Regions from separate parts of the Homo sapiens genome. Here all the other regions are linked to region 2. Evidence: promoter capture Hi-C in 16 types of primary human blood cells and fetal thymus (Javierre and others, 2016). All regions are on one chromosome and are shown on one strand. Each heading gives the region's core, a stretch centred on a gene start or on the middle of the fragment in contact. The rest is flanking DNA. Distances are from core to core; before and after follow the strand shown. Region 1 overlaps KYAT3 (kynurenine aminotransferase 3). Region 2 holds the start of LRRC8B (leucine rich repeat containing 8 VRAC subunit B). Region 3 overlaps KYAT3 (kynurenine aminotransferase 3).

Region 1 (4,385 bases), core at 398-2,897, 560 kb before region 2:
ACAGCAGTGAAAAAGGCAGGCTTTGCCCTTGTGGAGCTAACATCTGAGGGGAAGAGACCTCGGAGACAAACTTGTCCAGGTAGTCTTAATTGGACTCCTTGGTATCTTAGGGAGATCTATAAATAAGCATGCAGTGGGAGTATTTGAAATTACATATAAAATTTCATATATGCATAGATAGATTTACCTGGAGAATGGGACTATCACATTCTCAAAGGGATATTCCAGGCAAAACGATTAAGCATTTCTTCATATTTCAAATCAGAAAATAAAATCTAGAATATAAGTGATGTATAAGCAGTGACAGACAGCAGGCTATGTGGGAAGAGAACACTGTAATGTTCCCTGGTATAAAGTGCTAATTTAAAAGCATTATCTTGAGAGTAAAGATGTTTCTCTCTTCTCAAAAGCACGGTTAATTTTTGTATTTTTAGTAGAGATGGGGTTTCGCCGTGTTGCCCAGGCTGGTCTCAAACTCCTAACCTCAGGTGATCTGCCTCAGCCTCCCAAAGTGCTGGGATTACAGGCCTGAGCCACCACACTCAGCCTCATCTGTGAAGTTCTCAGGGACTAAGACAATCTATCTTTGTAACTCTAGTGGGAAATATAAAGCTTAATACAAGGTGAGAGCACAATAAAGGAAAATAAATTGGAGAGGCAGGGCAGTAGAGTGGGAGAAATATACCTGTTACTCTTCGCCTTGATTTTTTCACTTTTATGATGTGAACAATTCCTCTCTCTCTTTTTTTTTTTTTGAGAATATTTATTGCGTCCTCACTATTTTAGGTGCTGGCAGTAAAGCTATAAAGTTCTCCTAGAACTTATATCCTACTGAGAGAGGCTTATAATGAACGGAGAGACAAATAAGGACATTAGATAATTTCAGATAGTAATAAATGCTATAAAGAAACAATAAATAGGTCAGTATGATAGCAAGTGACATGTATGTGGTTTCAAAATACTAGATAAGTTGATGAAGGAAGAAAGAATAGAGGAAAGAAAGCTAAGGGCTAAGCCTTATAATACTCCCAACAGAGTGCAGAGAAAGAAGCAACAAAGGATTAACAACATCGAAGTATGAGACAAAACTATGTATAGGATTAAAGGAGTTTATGTATATGAAACTGTGAACTTCATTAACATGTTTCCTTAAACATCTTGTCTGGCATAGTGAAGGGAATCAAAGTTGTAAAAGAATAACATAACACAAAGCAGATAGTGGCATCTTTCATAAAAGTGGTATGATAAAGGGTTATGAGAGTTTAAAGAAAGTTAACAATATAGATCAGGATAAATATTCGTTCTGCAGTCCCAGCTTAAGCAATGTCTCTCTGGAGCTTTCCAGACTTAGCAGAGGTGATTGCCTCTTCCTTTTGTCACTACCATAGTGTTCCTCGTAATCCATTTGCAAGTCTGTGTTCTCTACTAGACAGGGAACACCTTCTGCATAGAATCTATCTTTAAAACATCTTCTATCTCACAGTGCTTAGCATATATTGGATCCTCAGTATTTTCTGAATAAATGAAAGAGGCAAAAAGTATTAAAGTAAGGCTATTGGAATGCTAATGGGAAATACGGGTAGAGATGACTGAGGTAGTTGCAAAAGTTGGTCATACCTCACAGTACTAAATCGCAGAAATCATTTTACCTTCCTATTATATTAATACATTCTCAGCTGGGCGTGGTGGCTCACGCCTGTAATCCCAGCACTTTGGGAGGCTGAGGCAGGCGGATCACCTGAGGTCAGGAGTTCGAGACCAGACTGGCCAACATGGCAAAATCCCATCTCTACTAAAAATACAAAAATTAGCTGGGCTTCGTGGCGGGCGCCTGTAATCTCAGCTACTCAGTAGGCTGAGGCACGAGAATCACTTGAACCCGTGAGGTGGAGGTTGCAGTGACCAAGATCGTGCCACTGCACTCCAGCCTGGGCAACAAAGTGGGACTCCATCTCAAAAAAACAAAAACAATCACAAAAACATCCTCACATGGGATGGCTTATACAATTACTGGGCACACAAAGACATTGATCAAAAACTTGTAGACCAAGTTAAGAGTAAAGGTTATTTTAGCAATGAAAACAAAAGATTCTTTTTCCCTGGCAGTGTTAGTCCCTTCCATCTGCCCTTATTTAAATAGGCTATAAAAATAAGAATAAATTATATGCAACAAAATGGATGAATCTCACAGACACAAAAATAAATGAATGGATCTAGACCCAAGAGTATACACTGTATAATTATATTCATATTAAGTAAAAGAGCAGTGAAAACAAGCCTATGGTAATAGAAGACAGAAGAGTACTTACCTCTGGGAGAATATAGACTCTGAAGAGGAACAAAGAAGTTTTCTGGGTACTGGAAATGTATCATATCTTTGTCTGGTTGTAGTTGCACAGAAATTTACACAGTAATTTATCCAGCTGTACATTTAAGATTTGTGAACTTTACTGTACATGCATTATACTTAAAACATAATTAAAAATAAAAAGAGAAAAGAGTAGAATATAAGCGAAAGATTCAAAGGTGGGACAAATGATAATTGATTAATATGGGTATTACGATAATGTTAATATACTTACTTCATCTCCCTCATCAATTAATGCTTGAATGGTGTTAAAAAGAGATCCATATGCTCCTACTGTCACAAGGATTTCTTTATTTGAATCAATTTGCTTTTGATAAAGCTTTTCATACAGATAGGACAGAGCTTTCACAAGTGATGGATGGCCCTGTTGGATTAAAAATAAGAACAAAACCTTGAATTTAAATATGGGACCTACTGTTTGAGGTAATATGGCTCTAAAATGTAAGAATTTTTAAAATTTGGATTTGATGTTTATAATTACCCCAAGAAAATTTATATTTTTTAATGGCAATAAATTTTTTAAAATTTCCTACATTTAGAGTATTCCCACACTATTTGTCATGAAGGCTTGCTAATGATTAAAACTTCTTACTAAATAAAGGGTTTGGGATTATATAATTTCAAAGTATTTGCTTTGAATAAAAATCAACCATTTGTATTTTTTGACAGTAATTAAATCATATTGAAAAGAGTTGGATTTGTTTCCCAGTTAAAATAAGTGAAAAAAACCCACTTTAACTGTATACCCACTCCTTGGCTCTTCCTGATTGCTGGAGAGATGGTTATGCCAACCAATGGACTAGGGAAAGAGAACAAAAACAAATTCACCAACGACACGAACACTAGTGTTGATGTGATAGCAAATGTTAGAAGGAAGTGAGACACTACTCACACTGACAGTCAAGAGAGCAGTGGTTATCCAAGGTAACTACTTTCATAGGAGAAGTGAAGGGATTATGAAGGTACAGCCTGAGGCAAGCAGGGGGTCTGAAGACTCCTGGATTAGCTCTCCCTAAGTTCTCTTCTAGGCTCTCTCCCCTTCCTTCCTTTTTTTTCTTCCTTTTCCTTTCCCCCTCCTTGTTTTATTTGGTATTTAGGTCAATATTTCCTGTTGTTTTCTGTCCAGCATCTACCTCCTCATTTTGCTTTTGAAGTACCATCCTGATTTTCTATCCCTTGAGAGTAAGAGTGCAAGTGCAGGTCATGTACCTTTGTTTGAAAGCACTTTGGGCTCTGGAGCAATAAACTGAGTTCCTTTGAATTTTACTTTAATAGCAGGTCTAACAAATTCTAGCAAGAGGAGATCTGAAAAGCAACTATAAACACTATATACATTTCTTAGAATGATAAGTGTTTGTGCTTTTAAAATTAAAAATTTAAATACAAAAATAATTTATGCTTCATGCAATAAGTAAAACTAGGCAAAGATGTATAAAAATTACAATCGCTCCTCAATATTATTTCATTCCCATCCCCCTGAGGTGATGAATGTCCACAGCCTGGTGATAGTGCAACACCACTCTCAGTGCTTATACCAATATAAAAACACATAGACATGTATATACCTATGTATTTACAAAAACTAGAATATACATATTAATAAATAAGTGGGTATGGTTGTGTTCTAATGAAACTTTATTTACAAAATTTGACATATTGGGTCCATAGGCCATAGATTGCAAAACCCTGCTATAGACCAATTTGGGAAAACTGACATAGACAATATTTAGTCTCTCAATCCATGAACATCATTCCCAATTTATTTAGGTATTGCTTAATTTCTCTCAGTAATGTTTTATAGATTTCATCGTACAGATCTTGGATATATTTTAAAAAATTTATTCTTAAATGTTTTGTGTTTTGGGATACTACTATAAATAGTATTTAAAAAATTTTACTTTCTAATTGTTCATTTTAATATATAGAAATACAACTGATTTTTGTATATTGGCTTTGTGTCCTGTGACCTTGCTCAATTCATTTATTAGTTGTAGTAGGCTTTTTTTTCTTTTAGAAT
Region 2 (4,350 bases), core at 408-2,907:
AACGATTGAGACCTGCCTGTCATTTTTTTGGTGCTTAAAATCCATGATGGAATTTTTAATCACTATTTTAGACTTGGGTAAATCTGGCTGTGAAAGTAGTGACAGAGTCTTTTAGAATTTTCTTCTACCAAAAATAATTAATCAGAAAGTCCCTGAGAGAATTTCAGATACTCCTGTAAGGATCAAACCTAAATTTAAATTAGACTTGTAGATCTGTGCATACCCAGTGTCTCACACATATAAACTCAATAAAAATTTATCGAATGACCAAGTGAAGAAATGTTCTTTCAGCTTTTCCTTCAAGACTCAGAAAAAAGATATCTGCAGTTCCAGAATGGACTGAGTGAACAAGAAAAGAACAGATCAGTGACACAAAGACAGCCTTCTTTTTCCCTTTCAGGGTGACTCAAATTGTAGTCCTCATCTGAACAGTCTGAGACACAACTCTTGTCTCATATTAACTCGATAGGGCATTTGCTATACTCCCATTTACACAAACTGCTCAGATGCCCCAAATGCTGAGTCTGTTCGTCTTCATTTTATTCCTTTGGGAGATGCCGGTACAAACTTGTTTTTTCTTTCTTTTTTTAAATGGAGATGTGACCACCATAGCAACTAAAAGACATAAATCTTGCCTAATTGAATCAGTGTGCTCAAGATAATAGCCAGGGCAGAGACTGAGTTAAAACTGGGGTAAGGGTGAGAGTGGGGAAATGGATGAGGATGATAAAAATATTTATGTCCCTAGAATTTGTGGGTTTGGATTAATTCTGTTTCGTAAGGAATATTGTTGGCCTTCAAATGCAGTGCCACTTGGGAGAGAAGCAAGCGGGCAGTAGTTGAGGTGTCTCTGCAGTTGAATCGCAGTGAAAGGCAGGTTATGAGTATAGGGACCGCCCCTCGGCCATGTGGTCCCCTCCCTATCCTGAGGATAACGACATTTGAGAGAAGCCAATGGTATTGGAAGGCCAGAATCGAACTTAAGCCGCTTAGTTGGTACAACTGTAAACCCTCCCTCACAGAGGCTGGGCCCTGCAATCTTTCTAAGCAGGGTAAAGAAAAGTAAGGGGACTTCCTTTTCGAAGAGGAGGTTCCCGCGTGCTGCACCCGACCTTTCCCTCAGGGCCCAACACGCGTTATATAAATGCCAAGTTACTCAGGGACGCACACGTGAGAAGGCTGGGGCCCGACACACGCGGTGTAGTGCCGAAGTCACCGGTGTGGCGCGCCTGGGGGACACGCCGAAGCCCATTTCCCTCCCGCTTCTGGAAAGCAGTCCCCGCTCTTTCCAGCTGCTCCGCGGGGCGTATGGCTGTGCGCTACCTCCTGCGGACCCCAGGCTGGGCGAGGGGGCAGCGATGGCCACATGGCGCGCTCGGGGAGATGGCAGCTGCGCTTTGTTTCCAGCAGTGATAGGTGAGTCACTGGCTCCCGCAGCCCCAGAGCTGGGCAAACACTCAGGCCCAGGCAGCTGAAAAATTCACAGCAGGAGCAGCTACCGAAGCGACTGCAGCCTCTTCCTCCTCTTCCTCCTCCTCCTCCTCCTCCGCCACTGCTACCGCCACCACCGTGGTAGCCGCCTCCGCGCCCTGCCTCCGCCCCGTCCCCTCCTCCTCCACCCGCGAACTTAGTCAGCGGTTCGCGCCGCCGAGCGCCCATTGGCCAGCGGAACGCGTCGCGTCACAATGGAGCCGGTCGGAGGCGGCGAGCCGGACAGCGCCGGGGCTTCCCGCTGAGCCCGCAGCCTCCGGCAGCCGGGAAAGTGCGGGCGCGGGGCCGCAGCCTGCCCGCCCGGAGCGGCCCAGGAGCACGCCGCGGGGAGCGCGGGCGTCCGGGGCTGGAGTCGCGCAGGTAGGTCGGAGCGTGACACCCCGGTTCCAGGAGGGCGAGCCGCGCCGACCGAGGTGGTGGAGGAGGAGGACCGGATACGGGGACGCAGCAGGTGGGGCTGGCCGAACAGGTGCGGTTACCTGTTCACGCCTCACCTGCGAGCCAGGCTGCGGGCCGGTAGCGCGGCTGCAGAGACGAGTGGCCGCTTCGTTGTGCTCCCTGCCTTCGGGAGAGACGGAGTCCCACGCTGAGAGGACCTCTCCTGTGTGCTGGGGTCATTTGGAGCAAGAGGTGTGGGCGGTCGCGCCGAGACGGTCACCTCTCTTTCCCCCGGGAGTCTCGGCGTTGCACCTGAGCGTGAGTCCTCGGGGCGGGGCGGGAAAGGGGTTCCGCTTTCCCAGGCTGGCGTCTCGCTCCAGATGAGCGCAACTCCCCTGAGGGTGCCCCCATTTGGTCGCTCTGTTTTGCCCCCTGCGCTGGCGCTGTTGGGAACTATTTTATGCTCTTGGGAACTATTTTATGCTGTTGGATACGCGTTGGTTGCCTATAATTTGGTGGTGGTGTTGGGCGTTGATTTGTTTGAGAAAGAAAGGGCAAGCGTTACCAATTTAAGAAGAAGACTCAAGAGTTTCCCCTGAGCTTAGTTGAGCAGGTGCTGAGAGGTCAGAAGGGAGGAGGCTCAGTATTGGCTCATTAATCTGTGTGCTCAACTGACTTCCTAAAGTCCATAGATTGCCTTTAGTTAGATGACATTTGTGGAAAACTTTTTTTTTCTTTGTGGTCAAAAAGACACCCCTCTAAAAGAACAAAACCGACATGTGAACTTCCTTGAATAAATTCACTTCGCCTAAAGACTTCAAACAAACAAACAAAAAAACACTCCACTGGTAAAAGATAACAGTATGAACATTTTAAATTGTAGATATATAGCCAAATTAAAACAGGCAATTTGTTCAGCGTATATTAAGAAGACATTACGTAGCATGATTTTTATTAAAAGACAACCTATTTGCAAATGATATAGTAGTCTTTGCAGAACACCCCAGAAATCTTAAAACAGATTTATCTTTATCAGATGGTTCTGTCCCCTAAACCTAGGTGTAGGAGTGAGGATGGAAAAGAAGTCAAACTGCAGTGTAATTTTTTAAACAATTCCAGTACCCTCTATGTGTACAGGCTACACCTCCTGAGAACCCCAAATGCTCTTTGTTTTGTTTCTTTGTTTTGTTTTGAGACGGAGTCTCACTCTGTCGCCCAGGCTGGAGTGCAGTAGTGCGATCTCGGCTCACTGCAACCTCCACCTCCTGGGTTCAAGTGATTCTCCTGCCTCAGCCTCCCGAGTAGCGGGGACTACAGGGGCCCGCCACCACGCCCAGCTAATTTTTATATTTTTAGTGGTGGCGGGGTTTCACCATGTTGGCCAGGCTGGTCTGAAACTCCTGACCTCAAGTGACCCACCCACCTCGGCCTCCCAAAGTGCTGGGATTACAGGTGTGACCCCAAATGCTCTCTGAATTGTGGGTGCCGAGGTGACTTTCTTTTTCTCCTGGCTTTCCTTGTCAGCAGCTCTACTCAGAGAATATAAAGTGACAGCCAACCCCCAAGGTAATTGGGCCTGTGTAATTTTAGAATATAAGCCCTAACATGTCTGATATTTCTGTAAGCTAAAAAGAGGTCTCTTGAATGGGGGTGATGTTGTCATTGAGTGCACCCTTGGGTCATGGCACTTTCCTTATACTTAGTATCCCCAACAACATTTTTAAATCTGCATGTCGGAATTAAGTTTACCATTCTTTGAAATGTGTTCTCTTTTTCCTCAATTGGTAAGGTGTTCCAACATGTTCAGCCTATTATGAATCTTTTCACATTTTGAATGATTTCATTTGACTAGTTGAGATTTGCTTTTTTAAACCTCTTCTCTACCACTATCACCATTTCCCATTGCTATTTTAATTTTCAGAATCCTCAGAGTGAAAACACCAACAGTAAGTAAAATGAAAAGGGGCTTAATAAAACTTAAAGGATACTAAGCCTTCCAAGTTTTTTAGACTAATCCATGTATTTTCCTGTAGTGGCCTGAAATTTGTTATTTTTTGTTGTTTTCTGAAGTTTAAGGGGAAAAATATTTTACAATTTAGAACATCCTTGTTTTAGCCAATGTTTTTCTTATAAACAAGGGTTTTTGTTTTTGTATTTTAGTTTTCAAATTCTTCTAATAGTACCTGAGTATTTTATGTTTTCTGGACTTTTTACTATTCATAGCCTGTTTAACCCAATCCCGGATTTTCATTTGGTGTCTCTAAAGTTGAATTCTCTAATTTTACTCTTATTTCTCCTTCCCAGCATCCTTCTACCACACCCTGATATTATTAGAAATGAATGCATTCTGATTCTGTCATGTTATTACACACTTGGTGGCATGATTTGCATTGCCTTGCATGGAGCAGGTTCTCCACTGCTATCCTGACTCCCAGAGCACTGGGTACATCAGCAAACAGTTCAGACCTGTGACCATTCAAG
Region 3 (4,671 bases), core at 172-2,671, 540 kb before region 2:
TCACTCCCTAGTTATGAGTGTTAATCAACACTGATGCCTTCCTGAGATCCACAGGAACCCTTGAAGGCAAAATCTATTGCCTGCACCAAACCAATTCTGACAGCACTGCTTATGCAACTGCACTGACTTACCAACAATCAGCCGCCTTCTGCTTCAACAACTCTTAGCATTTGATTTCTCTTACTGCCAGCGTTATCTACTGTGAATCAATCAGCACTCCACAAACATAATGAGCACAATCTTCAACCATCTTTGCTGTTTCACAGGCATTTGATGCTTTAAATCTGATGTGGAATGCTGATAGATTCACTTTTTAGAAGTCATAAGCCTTTAGGAAGTTGGAGATAAATTCATTGCTTATCTATTTTCTCCTTTGCAATCAAGCTGTTCCTTTAAAAGTGAGACATTAGAGTTGCAAAAATTTGAAAGAGTAAGAGCAAGCACCTTTGCAGCTTCATGGTTGGTTTTGGCCAAACTTTTTATTTAGTATTCCGTAGTTGTTTAGCACACACTTAAATGGTCTTATTGTGGGAGGGGAAAGGGGAGGTTCTTGCAGATTCCCAAGGAAATGTCAGAAAGGCAAAATGGCCAGCATTATCCATTTGCTTTTTTTGGGTTTACTGGGTGAATAGCACTTTCCTTACATAGGCATCTGATTTCAGGTTTTGCATACTGAGAACAGTGAGATTTCAGTTAGAAAACACCCTGAAATCTTATGAGTAGCATACTCCAACCACCCTCTAATAGCTAGCTTGTTTGTATAGGCAGAATGATTCATCTCTCCATTTTAGTTGGCTAGATGTTTTGTGGAAGATCTTAGAATTGCTTGCCTCATTTACTGGGAAAAACCAGATAGGAAGTGGTCTTTAGGGACACCTTTACTTGGAAAGTTACAACACTAGTACTACAAGGCTTAACACATTTAACATTTGCTTGTTGAAAAGCAATGTCATAAAGTCAAATAAAATTAAACATGTTTTACTTTTTTCCTCACAAGAACATAAAAATTACGGAAGGGACTTAACAGGGAATTTAAAAAAGGTAACACAATTTTTCCTTTTAGTAGTCCTTGGGTAGTTATGATAGAATAGTTTCCACTCTTTTTTTTGTTTCTTTGAACTGGGATTTTGGTCCAAAGTTTTGTTTGTTTCTAGTATCTGCTTCTGCCTCCCCCTCTATCAGATCGGCTTCCTCCAGGGCCAGCACCTCTTGGTGCTCCGCGGCTTGAACTGCTGTAGGAATCACGTGAAGAAGGGTACCCCCTTTCTACAGAAGGGGGAAGCCCTCTTTCTTGTCTGCCAACCCTGTCACAACTTGAGTAGAGATCACTTCGGCTGCTTGAGTAACTGTCTCGACTTCCACCATATCCATCACGTGAGCTGCTATAATCATCATAGCGACTGCTTCCACCATAAGATGGCGGGGGCCCTCGTGTAAGTGGAGCACTACGTGAGTTACCATAACTCTCATATGAATCTCTGTAGGAACCTCCACTTGGATGATCTGAATAGTCACGATCACGACCATATCCATCTCTATCGCCATAGCCTCTTGATGGATAGTCATCACGTGAACTGGAATGACCATAATCACGGTAAGTATAATCTCGTGGTGGTGGTGCATAATCTCTTGTATCACGAGAACTTGGGTAATCTCTGCTTGAATAGCTGTCTTTAGTAGAATACCCATCATCTCTTGGGGACAAATAAACATCTCTACGAGAGGGGAGCGGTTCCCTTCGAGGTGGACCTCCATAACTATCTCTTCCACGTGATAGAGGAGCTCTTCCTCCCATTCCACTGCTGCTGCGAACTAGTCCTGAAGGTGCAGATCTCTTAGGAGAAGGACCCCCACTTCTTGGTGGTGGTCCTCTTTTTACTGGGAGTGGTCCCCTGGAAGAACTCATGTTAAAATTCATGGAATATCCACCATCATCCATGTGTCCTCCTCGTGAAGGAGGTCCCCTGGTTCCTCCACTTCCTCCTCTTCCAGCTCCAAAACCTCTTGGAGGACCTCTACTTCTTGGAGGTGGGGGCGGTCCATGTCTACCTCTTTCAAATGATGGTTTGGTGGCTTGTTCCACCTTGATGGCTTTTCCATCTAATGACTTTCCATTCATGTCTCTGGCTGCATCCTTAGCGTCTGCTGGGCTTTCAAAGGTGACAAAAGCAAATCCTCTTGATTTGTTGGTTTCACGGTCTTTTATCAAGAGTACTTCCACTATTCGTCCATATTTGCCAAATACTGTTTCAAGAGCTTTCTCATTTGTTTCCGTATTAAGCCCACCAATGAAGAGCTTTCCTGGGCGATCTGCTTCAACCATTTTTTTTTTTGCCGGTGAGTCGGAGGGGTGACAGTGGGTTCAAGCTCCAACAAGCTCGCCGACAGGGGCTTCCTAGCAGCTCAGCACCAGTGGCGGCTGTCAGTTAGGAGGACTGAACCGCGAAGCCGCTAGCACTACTGCGCAATCTGGATGCTTTTTAAGGTATGGCTATCCATTCAAAAAACCAGGAAAATTACTTTCTTTTGCCACTAGATGGCAGAGGAAAACAACAGAATGTTCCTGTAATGGTGGAAGAAATGAAAGTAAAACTCAGAAGTGGAAATGTAAAGCAGGGAAAGATGCTTAAAGATACATAAAAAATGCAATTATATTAAGCTCAAAAGTGTGTATAATTAACAGGAGCCCTTTTTTTGTTGCTTTTTTTTTTTTTTTTTTTTTTTTTTGTAGACAGGAGTCTCACAGTGTTGCCCAGGCTGGAGTGCAGCGGCGCAATCTTGGCTCACTGCAACCTCTGCCTCCCAGGCTCAAGCCATTCTTGTGCCTCAGCCACCTGAGTAGCTTGGATTACCGGCATGCGCCACCACACCTGGCTAATTTTTGTATTTTAGTAGAGCAGGGTTTCACCATGTTGGCCATGCTGGTATGGAACTCCTAGCCCAAGTGATCCGCCTGCCTCGGCCTCCCAGTGTTGGGATTATAAGGGTGAGCTACCACGGCTGGCCTTAACTGGAACTTTGAAACAACATATAGTTTGTTACTTTATTTTATAAAGAATTATTTGTGCCTGATACGCTGTAGCTATTTAACATCTGTTGACTGAACAGATCTGCTGAGTGAAAGGGAAGCAATTTGGACTCCCTCTGAGAGATAATGTATTTGGGGAAAAAATTGTACTTCAATAGAAAACTATGCACTGGCCACAGCACAGCTTTAGGGCTGATATTTGCAGGGCTAGAATTTGCCTTTGAGTTATTCTGGGCTTTTGTAAATTGAAGCTAAGTGACAGGCATGCAAATTCTGGTTCTAGCATTTTGATTATCTTCCCTCCACCCTGTAGAAAAAACAGTTTTGCCTTCATTTGCAATCCAATTCCTTTACTACATATGAATTTGTGCTTTTTGACTTTCCATATGTACTGGTTATAACTTCTGTCTGGTTACTTCATATCACATGAGTGAAATAAAAATCTTTAGCACATGTTCATTTTTATATTTGTATGAGTCATGATTTAACCTTTTTCTGAAAATTATATTTTAACAATTACTTCAGAGAAACAAGCTTATTGGAAACAAGGCTTTCTCTAAATCTGAAAGCTGATAACAGCTAAATACATGGCTGGAATGCCAGAAATGGAGTCAGGCCAAGTGGAGAACAAAAAGCCTGGTTTATTCTCTCAAAAAAAATTGGGTTCAAGCCAAGACCTTGGAAGAGTGAGTAAGTGAAGGGAGTGCGTGAGTATTGTCCTCACCCATATCAATAGGCCTGGGGCCCTTCTGCCTGCCTACACTGTGTAATCTCAGCTCCCCCAATCACAGCTATAAATCAGAGTTGGACAGTCAGGCTGAACCAATCAAGACAACTAGAAGTTTGGGTTTGAGGCTGAGAAACAGGCTGTTTCTTCTGGGCACATGAAACAGAAGATTGGTAAGTTTGAATCTGGGCAAGTCTGTGTTCAATCCCTCACACACATGCCATGTTCTGTGCCAAAAACACACCTACGTTCCAAGTATATTGTTCAAGGTTGTTTAATGCAAAGAGCTTTCAAGCCAGATAGATCTTAGTTCAAAATTAAACATCAAAACTCCTAGTGTGTGAAGTAGGCAGGTTACCTGACATCTCTGAAATTCAGTTTCCTTATTTGCTAAGCAGGAAAATGAATACCTGCCCCATGTAAGTGCTATGGCAATTAAATGAGGCAAAGCCATAAGCAGAAAAATATAGTTCATGGCATACAATATATATACTCCAAAACTAGTGCCCACTCAGAAAGTAGGAAAGATTCTCTTAGATACAAGTAAGGATGAGTAACTTTGCACTAAAGGAGGCAAAGAGATATTGGGTATGGACTAAATGTACAAAAGGTGATACTTTCACATCAAAAGAGAGGGTTGGGCTGGACGCAGTGACTCATGCCTGTAATCTCAGCACTTTGGGAGGCTGAGGAGGGTGGATCACTTGAGCCCAGTAGTTTGAGACCAGCCTGGCCAACATGGCAAAACCCCGTCTCTACAAAAAATACAAATATTGGCCGGGAGTGGTGGCGGGCACCTATAGTCCCAGCTACTCAGGAGGCTGAGGCAGGAGAATTGCTTGAACCCGAGAGGCGGAGGCTGCAGTGAGCCGAGATTGCGCCATTGCACTCCAGCCTGGGCGGCAAGAGTGAGAGA

What was found. Contacts are between HindIII fragments. The CHiCAGO score rates a contact against its expected background, and 5 or more counts as called.
Region 1: a contact is called between a fragment that was not itself captured here and the fragment with the promoter of LRRC8B in region 2, in 3 of 17 cell types (neutrophils, total CD4 T cells and non-activated CD4 T cells). The highest score is 6.1, in neutrophils.
Region 3: a fragment that was not itself captured here is called in contact with the fragment with the promoter of LRRC8B in region 2 in 1 of 17 cell types (activated CD4 T cells); the score reaches 5.3 in activated CD4 T cells.

Annotation. Positions count from the first base shown.
Region 1 is chr1:88,962,247-88,966,631 of GRCh38, forward strand. It overlaps KYAT3 (kynurenine aminotransferase 3), which reads right to left. Exons shown (of 14, transcript NM_001008661.3): 5 at 2,583-2,732. Among named protein-coding and RNA genes, the nearest start is that of KYAT3, 28 kb to the right of the region's middle. The HindIII fragment of the contact is 2,075 bases long and covers 611-2,685 here.
Region 2 is chr1:89,523,172-89,527,521 of GRCh38, forward strand. LRRC8B (leucine rich repeat containing 8 VRAC subunit B) reads left to right here and starts at 1,658. Exons shown (of 6, transcript NM_001369817.2): 1 at 1,658-1,851. RefSeq lists a silencer at 1,522-1,981 and enhancers at 2,683-3,184, 3,185-3,686. The HindIII fragment of the contact is 21,216 bases long and covers 1-4,350 here.
Region 3 is chr1:88,981,504-88,986,174 of GRCh38, forward strand. The region is part of intron 2 of KYAT3 (kynurenine aminotransferase 3); the gene reads right to left. It overlaps RBMXL1 (RBMX like 1), which reads right to left. Exons shown (of 3, transcript NM_001162536.3): 3 at 1-2,563. The coding sequence starts at 2,323. The coding sequence ends at 1,151. Among named protein-coding and RNA genes, the nearest start is that of KYAT3, 8.8 kb to the right of the region's middle. The HindIII fragment of the contact is 4,277 bases long and covers 1-3,560 here.